Linked DNA regions of Homo sapiens: region 2 is linked to region 1. Evidence: promoter capture Hi-C in human tissues and cell types (Jung and others, 2019). All regions are on one chromosome and are shown on one strand. The core of a region is centred on a gene start or on the middle of the fragment in contact, and the rest is flanking DNA. Distances in the headings are between cores, read along the strand shown. Region 1 holds the start of STH (saitohin). Region 2 overlaps MAPT (microtubule associated protein tau).

What was found. Contacts are between HindIII fragments. The study calls those that stand out against the background at their distance.
Region 2: a contact is called between a fragment that was not itself captured here and the fragment with the promoter of STH in region 1, in 1 of the 25 tissues and cell types used here (dorsolateral prefrontal cortex).

The regions. Positions count from the first base shown.
Region 1 is chr17:45,995,806-46,000,499 of GRCh38, reverse strand. STH (saitohin) reads right to left here and starts at 1,250. Exons shown (of 1, transcript NM_001007532.3): 1 at 806-1,250. The coding sequence starts at 1,220. The coding sequence ends at 834. It overlaps MAPT (microtubule associated protein tau), which reads right to left. Exons shown (of 13, transcript NM_001377265.1): 9 at 3,836-4,101. The HindIII fragment of the contact is 3,441 bases long and covers 308-3,748 here.
Region 2 is chr17:45,940,308-45,945,001 of GRCh38, reverse strand. The region is part of intron 1 of MAPT (microtubule associated protein tau); the gene reads right to left. Among named protein-coding and RNA genes, the nearest start is that of MAPT-IT1, 47 kb to the right of the region's middle. RefSeq lists an enhancer at 2,091-2,591. The HindIII fragment of the contact is 5,172 bases long and covers 1-4,493 here.

The sequences.
Region 1 (4,694 bases), core at 1-2,500:
GATCGGCGGGGCCTACGGGCTCTTCCTGCCTGGCACCCCACCCAGCTCCTCCTCCTTGCCTGCAATCTCTACCCCTACCCAGCTGGTGCTCCAGTGCGGCCACCTGATTATCTGCATTTTCCTTTCAAAATAATTCCATTTGGGGCCCCAAAGCAATCTATGTTCACTGTAGCAAATCCTGAAAACAGAGAAAAGCACAAAGAAGAAAACAGAGAAAAGCACAAAGGGGAAAACAGACGTTTTCCGTTTTTCCCCCAATGATTTGCAGCAATCTGCGGCAGTTTTCAGCCTCTGCAGGTTCCCAAACGTGACTTGGCTCCTGCTCTTTTCCCTTTGGTGTTAGCATCTGTTCCGGCACGGTTGAGGGATTCTTCAGACTCCGCCAGCTTTGCCTCTTTTGTAGCCAAACATTTATTGAGCACTTACTGCATACTGGGTACTACATGAGGCCACAGGGACCCAAAGGTCTCAGCAAAAGCTCGTGGAGCCTTCAGGCCAGTCCAGGAGGAGGAGGCCTGACACCCTTCAGCGGGTCATTTTAAAGGCTCTTGTGCATGGACCCTGTATGACATTTTTCTTTTTCTTTTTTCCTGGAGATTCATGTGTTGGTCTTTGTTATGGCTGAGGTTTAGTTTCAGACAATTTTTCTAGGCTTTCCTGGCATTTAAGGGAGGCTGTGACTGTGTCCTCTGCCACTTTTCCACACTTCGTCCCCCAAAATATCTCAAGAAAAGTCAAGTCACCCTTTCTCCTTTAACCCTTTAGTAGATTTGGACGTGCTGCCTCCACCCAGCATGGTGACGTCATAACCTGGGGCTCCCATCTGCCCCTTTCTACACTTGGCATGAGGTCGCCTGACTCTCACCCCTCATGGGCAGAGGCAGGGCAGCTGCAGGGTGGGAGGGACAGTTCTGGCCCTGAAAGGGGCCTTCAATGGAAAGTTGTCTTCCCTGCTCAGCCCCATTCCTGCTGCTCTCTTCAGAGCTGTAAGAACTGGGCCAAATGGTGCCCACACCTTCCAAGCCAACCTCAGATGAACTCAGGGTCAACAGGGAAGCTACTTCCCATGCTAAGCTGAGGGTTCTGTCTCTGGCAACCTGAATCATCCACTCACACAGAGGCTGAGTTAAATTAACCCCGCATTCAATGAGGGCCGGCCACCTGCACAGTCTTGTGGGGGCTGCAAAAATGCATGAGACTTGGCCTCCACCCTCACTCATGGCCCAGACTAGGGAGCAGCAGACACATGCTCAGTGTGGTCAGAGTTTACAGGGGCTTTAAGAAGAGAGAGGGGAATCCAGGAAGACTTCCTGGAGGAGATGGCAACTGAACTTGGATTTAAGGGAAGGGAAGAGATAAGGAGAGAAGGACATTCCCCACCATGGGACACAGGGCAGGGTATGGCAGAACCCAGGGGCCCCCAGAGGTGCATGGGCGGGGAACCCCAGACGGGGAGCAGCAGATTCAGGCTAGGGGGAAGGGAGCACCTTGTGGGTGCTGCTTGTTATGTGACTTGAGGAGATCCTGGATGGCAGTCTGGGTGCTGGAGCAGGATGGGGGTGCATGGGTGGGCAATGGGAGAAAAGGCAGGAAAGGCCAGTGAGGGCCCCTCTGGGGTCTTGGGCAGCACCAAGGCCAGGCACCCTGGAGAATGAAAGTCACGGTGGTCCCAAGATGGGGCTTCTGGAGGCGACTTTCGAGAACCGAATGAGGACTGGAAAGTCTGGAGACGAGGGAGCGCATTGTCCCCAGTGGAAGCGCAGGACAGTTTCCCTCAGCTGCGGTACAGGACAGAGGCCCTGGGTCACCTGTGAGTTATTTCCCCAAGGTCTCTAACCAGGCCACTGTGGTGGATGAGGGTCCAGAGAGCCTCTTCCACTACAAGCTCCACATGCCTGAGCAGGAAAAGGCCGGACCTTAATTTAACCCGGATCGTTTGCCATCAGGAGGGAGATTCTGAGATGTTCTCTTCCTTCCCTCCCTCCTGTGTTCCAGGGAGCTCTGCCCTTGTCCCCACAGCCACAGGGGAGCCACTGTCTGTCCTTTCCTCGATGAGAGGAGGTGCTCTGGGGCACAGCCGAGTCTTCTCCACCTCTGTGCACCGCCTGGCACGCAGGGACTCTCAAAAGAGGCCTGATGCACAGAGGCAGGGTCTACACATGCGTCCCTTTTAACCCGACCGTCCATTTCCATCCCGATGGGATGTGACACTGCACTCACAAGCTTGTTCGGGGGCAGGGGGGATCCTGGGTGGGGGGAGGTGGCAGGGTTTGAGGCAAGGTGCCCATGTGCACTGGTGGCCACCCTCCGTCCAAATGCCCCAGGCTCAGACCCAAGTGATAAGAACTTCAATGGTGTGGAGAGCGCCTGCGTGGGGGAGGCAAGCTGACACGCAGGCCCAGGGTTCCAGAAAGCCCCCTAGCTCCCCGAGGCCCAGTGCCCAGAAGGCCCAGCACATCTGCAGCCTCAGAGTGAGCTGTGGTCCTTCTCACCCCCAGCCTCCTCTTCACCCTTCCCCAGCTCCCCAGTGCTGGGTGGCGGGAGCGGGGTCCTGGGCTGAATTGTGGTCCCCGCAAATTCACATGTTGAAGCCCTAACCCCCCTCCCCAACACCCCCGTACCTTAGAATGTGACTCTATTTGGAGACAGGGCCTTTAGAGAGGTGACTAAGTGAAAAATGAGGTCATCAGGCTGGGCCCTAAGCCATGGTGGGTTTTTTTGGTTTGTTTTATTTTGTTTTGAGACAGAGTCTCGCTCTGTTGCTCAAACTGGAGTGCAGTGGCACTATCTCGGCTCACTGCAACCTCTGCCTCCTGGGTTCAAGCGATTCTCCTGCCTCAGCCTCCTGAGTAGCTGGGATTATAGGCGCGCACCACCACCACGCCCAGGTATTTTTGTATTTTTAGTAGAGACGAGGTTTCACCCTGTTGGTCAGGTTGGTCTCGAACTCCTGACCTCGTGATCTGCCTGCCTCAGCCTCCCAAAGTGCTGGGATTATAGGCGTGAGCCACTACGCCCAGCTGCCATGGTGTTCTTATAAGAAGATGAGCATGCGCAGAGCTACCAGGAGCACACACAGAGGGAAGACTGCAGCGGTGCAGGACAGAGGTGGCTACCCACGGCCACAGAGAGGCCTTGGAAGAAACCCACCCGCCCACACCTGGCTAGTGAGGAGGCATACTGCTGTTCTTTCACTGTGGTGCTTTGTATGTCAGCCCTAACGCACCCAGACGAGGGGCACAGGGACAGGAATGGGGAAAGGGATCCAGGCCAGGCCCCCGAAGTCTGTGCTTCTCCACCTTTAGGAAGCTGGAGAGCTCGCGAGCACCCACTTGCTCCCAGAAGAATCAGCTGATCAAAACAGAACCCCCAATCTCCCCAGAATCCAGAGGAACCCAACCTAAGCAGATGGCCCACGAGTGGAGATGCTGACCTATGGGTGGCAGTGTATTCTGCCCAGAAGGCAGGTGGGGAACCGCTGTGGGTGCCCTGACTATGAGAGCCTCCGGCCGTGGAGACACAGCCCTGCCATCTCTGTCCGATTAACAGGGGCTGAAGGGGCAAGAGAAGAGCCAGAACGTTCTCTCGCCTGAGGAGGGCACTCACAGTGTAGTGGAGAGCCCAATAAAGAACTGAACTTCCTTGAAGAGGGTCCAGAGGGGACTGGGGTGTTATGCGGGGGTGCTCAGGTGCGGGGAGCCCCACACCTCCATGCACAGTCCCACGACTCCACGCTCAACCGCGCACCTCCAGGCGCAGCCCTACCCTTCCAGGCACAGCCCTACCCCTCCAGGCGCAGCCCCCCACACCTCCACGCGCAGCCAGCCACTCTCACCTTCCCGCCTCCCGGCTGGTGCTTCAGGTTCTCAGTGGAGCCGATCTTGGACTTGACATTCTTCAGGTCTGGCATGGGCACGGGGGCTGTCTGCAGGCGGCTCTTGGCGGAAGACGGCGACTTGGGTGGAGTACGGACCACTGCCACCTTCTTGGGCTCCCGGGTGGGTGGGGTTGGAAGGGACGGGGTGCGGGAGCGGCTGCCGGGAGTGCCTGGGGAGCCGGGGCTGCTGTAGCCGCTGCGATCCCCTGATTTTGGAGGTTCACCTGGGAAGGAAGGAAGGGAGTGAAGCCAGGACTCGAGTGGGTGGGGTCAGAAAAGGCCCTGGGGGCTGCCTGTCCCGTGGGTCCATTCCCAGGCTCACCACTGGGTTAGGCAGGTGGAAGCCAGGTTGGAAGCGCAGCTACAGCAGACGGCTGCCCTGGGGAAGCATCTCTTCCTCCCTGCCTTTTTGCTTAGGGACAGAGACACCCCTTTCCCAGGAAAGCAATGGAAAACCATCAACCACCATCCAATACCCGCTCCCAGAGAGGTGGCCAACTCGGCTCCACAGTCTTTGGGTCAAGAGATGGGCTCCAACAAGCTGTGTGGCCTCAGACAAGTAACTTCCCCTCTCTGAGCTCAGAGGCCTTAATTTGAAAATGGAAATAATTATAATCCCTGCGGCCAGCGTGGCTCCAGGAGGTGGTAGATATGCTTTGCCAACCTCTAATACAATTCTTCAGGGCCTTTATCCTAAATAAGGGTGATGCAGTGACGAGACCCAGCTGTGCCCTCAAGCCTGGACGCTTCTGACCCTTTCCCCACAGGGTGAATGTTCAGCTGTTCAGCTGTTCGGCTAGTTCAGGGCTCCTGCCAG
Region 2 (4,694 bases), core at 658-3,157, 56 kb after region 1:
GGCTGAGGAACCTCTAGTGGACCCAGAGAGAGTGAGGAGAGAGTCTGGCGAGAGGTGATTTGCTGGAGAGTTCAGCTTTACAGTGGGAAGTCTGTTGGGAGTGAGAGTCGGGAGGGATGGTGGGACTGTCGCAGCAGCATCACGGCCACTCTCTGAGGATGAATGGTCCTTCTTACAGTCAGGGCGTTGCCTCAGCAGCACCTCCGGGTGCTGCGAGGCCTCTCAGAGGCACCCTTGGGTCACTGGCCAAAGAGCACTGTGGGTTCTCGGAAGCACCTGCTCTTCCATCAGCTGTAAACCGGAATGATAACCAGCTCCTAGGCTTTGGTTTCTGAATGTACGCTGCGAACGATGCACTGCCTTGGCCTCATGGCAGGGGCTGGGGAGGCCCGCTCTACCCTGTACCCCGACCCGGGCCCAAAGCTGAGCTTGAAGGGCCCCCTGCTTGGCTTCTCGTTGGACCTGGAGCTCACCCATGAAGCCAGGACTCACGATGTGGCGATGCCACTTGCGCATCTATCCCCACGGGTACACAGAGAGGCCACTCGCCCCCAACCCCTCTCCTGGAATGCACCATATCCAGCCTTGTGAGTGGATGGGTGCCTGGACTCCCTGGGCCCCTGAGTTTGGAGGTGGAGGCTTTGGCTTCACGTCTTCCTGAAGGACACCTGTTCTCGGCTCAGCTCCCTCCATGGATTTGGGTGGAAAGGGAACCCGGACTGGAGTCAGAAGCCCTGGTGGGGTCCACTGGCTAGCTGTTGAGGCTGGGCCAGTCACTTGCCCTCTCTGAACTGCAATTCTTCATTTGAAACATGGGGATGATGACACTCCTGCCCCACAGGGTGGCTGTGATTGTCACTAGAAAAAAATGCATGAGAAAGGTGGCACTTGAACAAGCAGTCATATTCTGGACTGATGCGAGGTGCTGAAGTCATGACGTGTGAGTGGAGAAGGAGACTCCTGAAGATGGAGAAGAGGAGGCTGGACCTAAGGGAGAAAAGCAGGAGCCAGTAGGAGAGGCTTTGTCCCAACTTCTGCCCTGATGGTGGTGGGGTGACAGCAGGAAGAGGTGAGAGGCAGCTCTGGGGCAGCCCTGGAGAGGAGAGAAACAAGGGGCAACTTCCGGGAAGGTCTCAGAAGTGGTGGAGCGAAGGTAAACTTCAAAAGGAGAACCAGAGAATCTGTTCCTCATTCCTTCCAGCGCTGGAACCCACACAATGTGACAGGCAAGCACAGGGAAGACAAGGAAGGCGATCTGGGGGGACAGAGGGCCTGGCACTTTCTGCACTGAAGTCTCAGCTTTCGGGTAATGCACCCAGGAGCAGTGGGGTAGGTGGGAGTTTGAAAGGCCACAGAAAATGACCAGAAATGGGCTCTTTTTGCCATGATAGTTCATTAGATGGGGACAACAAGGAAGACAGGGAGGGGAGAGGAGGATTAGGAAGAAAAGGTGATAGTTTTTAAGATGTTTTCACTTCTAATTTTTGAGTCTGAGGTCACACTCTGAAAGTCGCAGGGGAGAAGAGGATGGCAATTCTGTTGGAAATCAGCAGTTGTCTGCCAGTAATGAACGACCTGAGCTCAGCACCGTCTTGGAGGGACAGAAGATAAACAGTGTCCGCTGAACACACGTAAGAAGTGCCACACTGCCAGGCATGGTGGCTCATGCCTGTAATCCCAGCACTTTGGGAGGCTGAGGTAGGCAGATCACTTGAGGCCAAAAGTTCGAGATCAGCTTGGCCAACACAGCAAAACAACATCTTTACTAAAAGTACAAAAATTTAGCTAGGCACGATGGTGCACATCTATAATCCCAGCTACTTGGGAGGCTGAGGCACAAGAATTGCTTGAACCTGGGAGGCGGAGGTTGCAGTGAGCTGAGATCATGCCACTGCACTCCAGCCAGGGTGACAGAGTGAGATTCTGTCTCAAAAAAAGAGAAGTGCCATACCAGGGCAAGCATACACATCTCCGAATTCTGTCTGACAGAGACAAAGTGCCCCCAGACACTTCTGCATGGCGGCATTGGGGCCAGAGATAAGCACAGCGCAGTGCAGGGAGTCAGACCAGGCTGCCTGGAGTCCACTCCGAATCCTTCACTTAGGAGCTGTGCGACTTTGGGGCAAGTCACTCAACCTCCCAGAGCCTCCTTTGCATTGTCTGTAAAATGTGGGGATTAGGTGAGTTAATACATGTCAAGTGTTCAGAACCATCGCTGGCTGTCGATGAACCCTACTATGGTTACCATCGTTAAAACTTTATCCATTAATTTAGCCAAACTTTTCTGTCTCCTGTTTGTATTTTCAAACTAAACAGCTTTTCAGGGCAAAGGGCCCCACCCCATTCTGGATCCTGGTATTGGGAGGGCTTTGCCTAGATTTGCATTATAATAGTGCCCCAGCTCCCGTCTGAATTTGGAGAGGCGCCTGGAGCTAGTTCTAGATTCAGAGTCCACCAGCGGGGAAGCAATGCTGGGAAGCAAAAGAAAGACTGTGGAAGGCTCTGAAGGCTCTTGTTTGACAGTACCCACGACACGTGGTGCCCCTTGGCCCTCTCGATGCAGCCTCCGGCCAGGCAGGGCAGATGGCAGACCCTGTGAGATCATCCCCTGGTCCCGTGACACCCTGGGGACAGAGCCAAAACCGTGTCCTGGTGCACCCTGGGCGAAGCCAACTGCTTTGTAAGGAAGAAGAAACGTACACTCTAGAGAGGTCCATGCATCATCAAGTGAAAACAGTAGTTGCAGAAATGTGCATGTTCAGAATTTTTATACATAAGAAAAGAATACATATATGTGTAGTCAAACAAATAAACAAACTAGAGTATATATGCCCAACAGGGGCTTTCTCTGTGAAGAGAAATACAATTAGGGAGATTTTCCCTTATTAGTGTCTACATTTTTGTCTCATTATACTGTTTTATAAACATGTATTATGTTTACAATCAGATGAAAGGCAATAATATGTTCTCATTTTGACAAAACAAAATGCTCTCGTTACAGAGTCATGTTCCACTGAGGATCTGTCCCACAGTGCCCTGTGGGTCTAGATCAATTTAAATGGACATATCAGAATTTGGATCAGGAAGAAAACAAAGTCAGAAGCACACACCTAGGTTCTGGGCCCCAAGAACATGATTTCAGAAAAAGCAGCCTCTCTCAATGCCAAATGTCCATTATCCAACAGAAAGACCAAAGAACAGCCTGGACAACATTTATGTCCTGAAACAGAAATTAGTCACATACCAGGAAGGAAGGAAGGAAGGAAGGAAGGAAGGAAGGAAGGAAGGAAGGAAGGCAGGCAGGAAGGAAGGAAGGAAGGAGGGAAGGGGGGAAGGGGGGAAGGGTGGAAGGGGGGAAGGAGGGAAAGAGGGAAGGAGGGAAGGGGGGAGGGAGGGAAGGAAGGAAGGAAGGGCGGGCAAAGGAGAAAAAGCTGGCAAGAAAGAAGCACAAAGAGTGTAGACACAGAAGAGGAAATGAAGTTCTGCTTGGAAAATGGCAAAACTCTACACCCCTGGGGTAGAAGCCAGGGGCAGGGGGAAGGAGGGGTCTCTGAGAGTCATTAAAGGGGAGACCCAGGAAATGAGAAGTCTGCCTCTGTGCTACGCCCTCCACACCCACCTGTGTCTGAGAGGCTTCTGGGTCTTCCAAGAGCCTTAAGAAAAGACCATCAAAATCATCAAGGAAGACTAAAACCACTGAATTGTAACTCAAAGTGGGGGAATTTTATAGAATGTGAATGATCATCTCAATAAAGATGTCTTTTAAAAGTTGCAAAGGAGACTCAAACTTAAATTTATTTTCTTTTGCTAATCTAAAAATAGAGATGCCCTTCAGTTTTCCCGTAGGTAGGAGTTGTGGCCTCCCAGCTGGCCTGCAGAAGCTGGTTTGGTCAGGCCTCAGCCTCTCCGGTCTCCTGTTTTCCAACAGGAGCCCTCTGGCTGGCTAGAACAAGGAAAAAGCAATTGACTCGAGGAACTCCTTGTACACAAGTCTCCTCTCTGCTTGCCAATCTGGCTTTGGCTCAACCCTCATCACTGGGGAGAGTTTGTGTTAAAGCACCAAGATGGCTTCCTATTGTTTATGCAATCTCAGAAGCTTTTGGAAAGGACTTTAAAGAAAAAAGCCCCTTGATAGCACCTAAAGTGGTTACCTAGCTCTTCTGGAATCCTTCCAATGACAGGGAGCTCATTACCTCTTAAGGGGGCTCATTCTATTTTCATCCTCTGAGTGACAGAAAATTTTTCTGTCTATAGCTAGAAACTGTGTCCCTGAGACTTTGGCAAATGGGTCCTGCTCAGTGCCCTGGAGCCACACAGAACATGCCAGTTCTTCATCCCAGGGGGCCCTTCACAGATTCAACTATCCCATATCCCCTGTCGTCTCCTCTTCAAGCTGAACATGCCCAACTCCTCCAACTATTCCTTACCTGGGCTGGATGGGCCACAGACTCGAGTATCAGAATGAACTCTAGGCTCTGGTAACAGCAATCATGACAACGATGACATCATTTGAGTGCTTACTCTGTGTAGCCACTTGGGATAATTCAACACATCCTCACTACGCCCTATGGGGTAGATTCTGTCCAGATTCCCCAACTCACAGATGAGGACTCTGAAGCACAGACAGGTGAAGTAACTTGCCCAAGGACACACAGCTTGTCAGTGGTGAAACCAGGATTCAGACAAGATTGGGC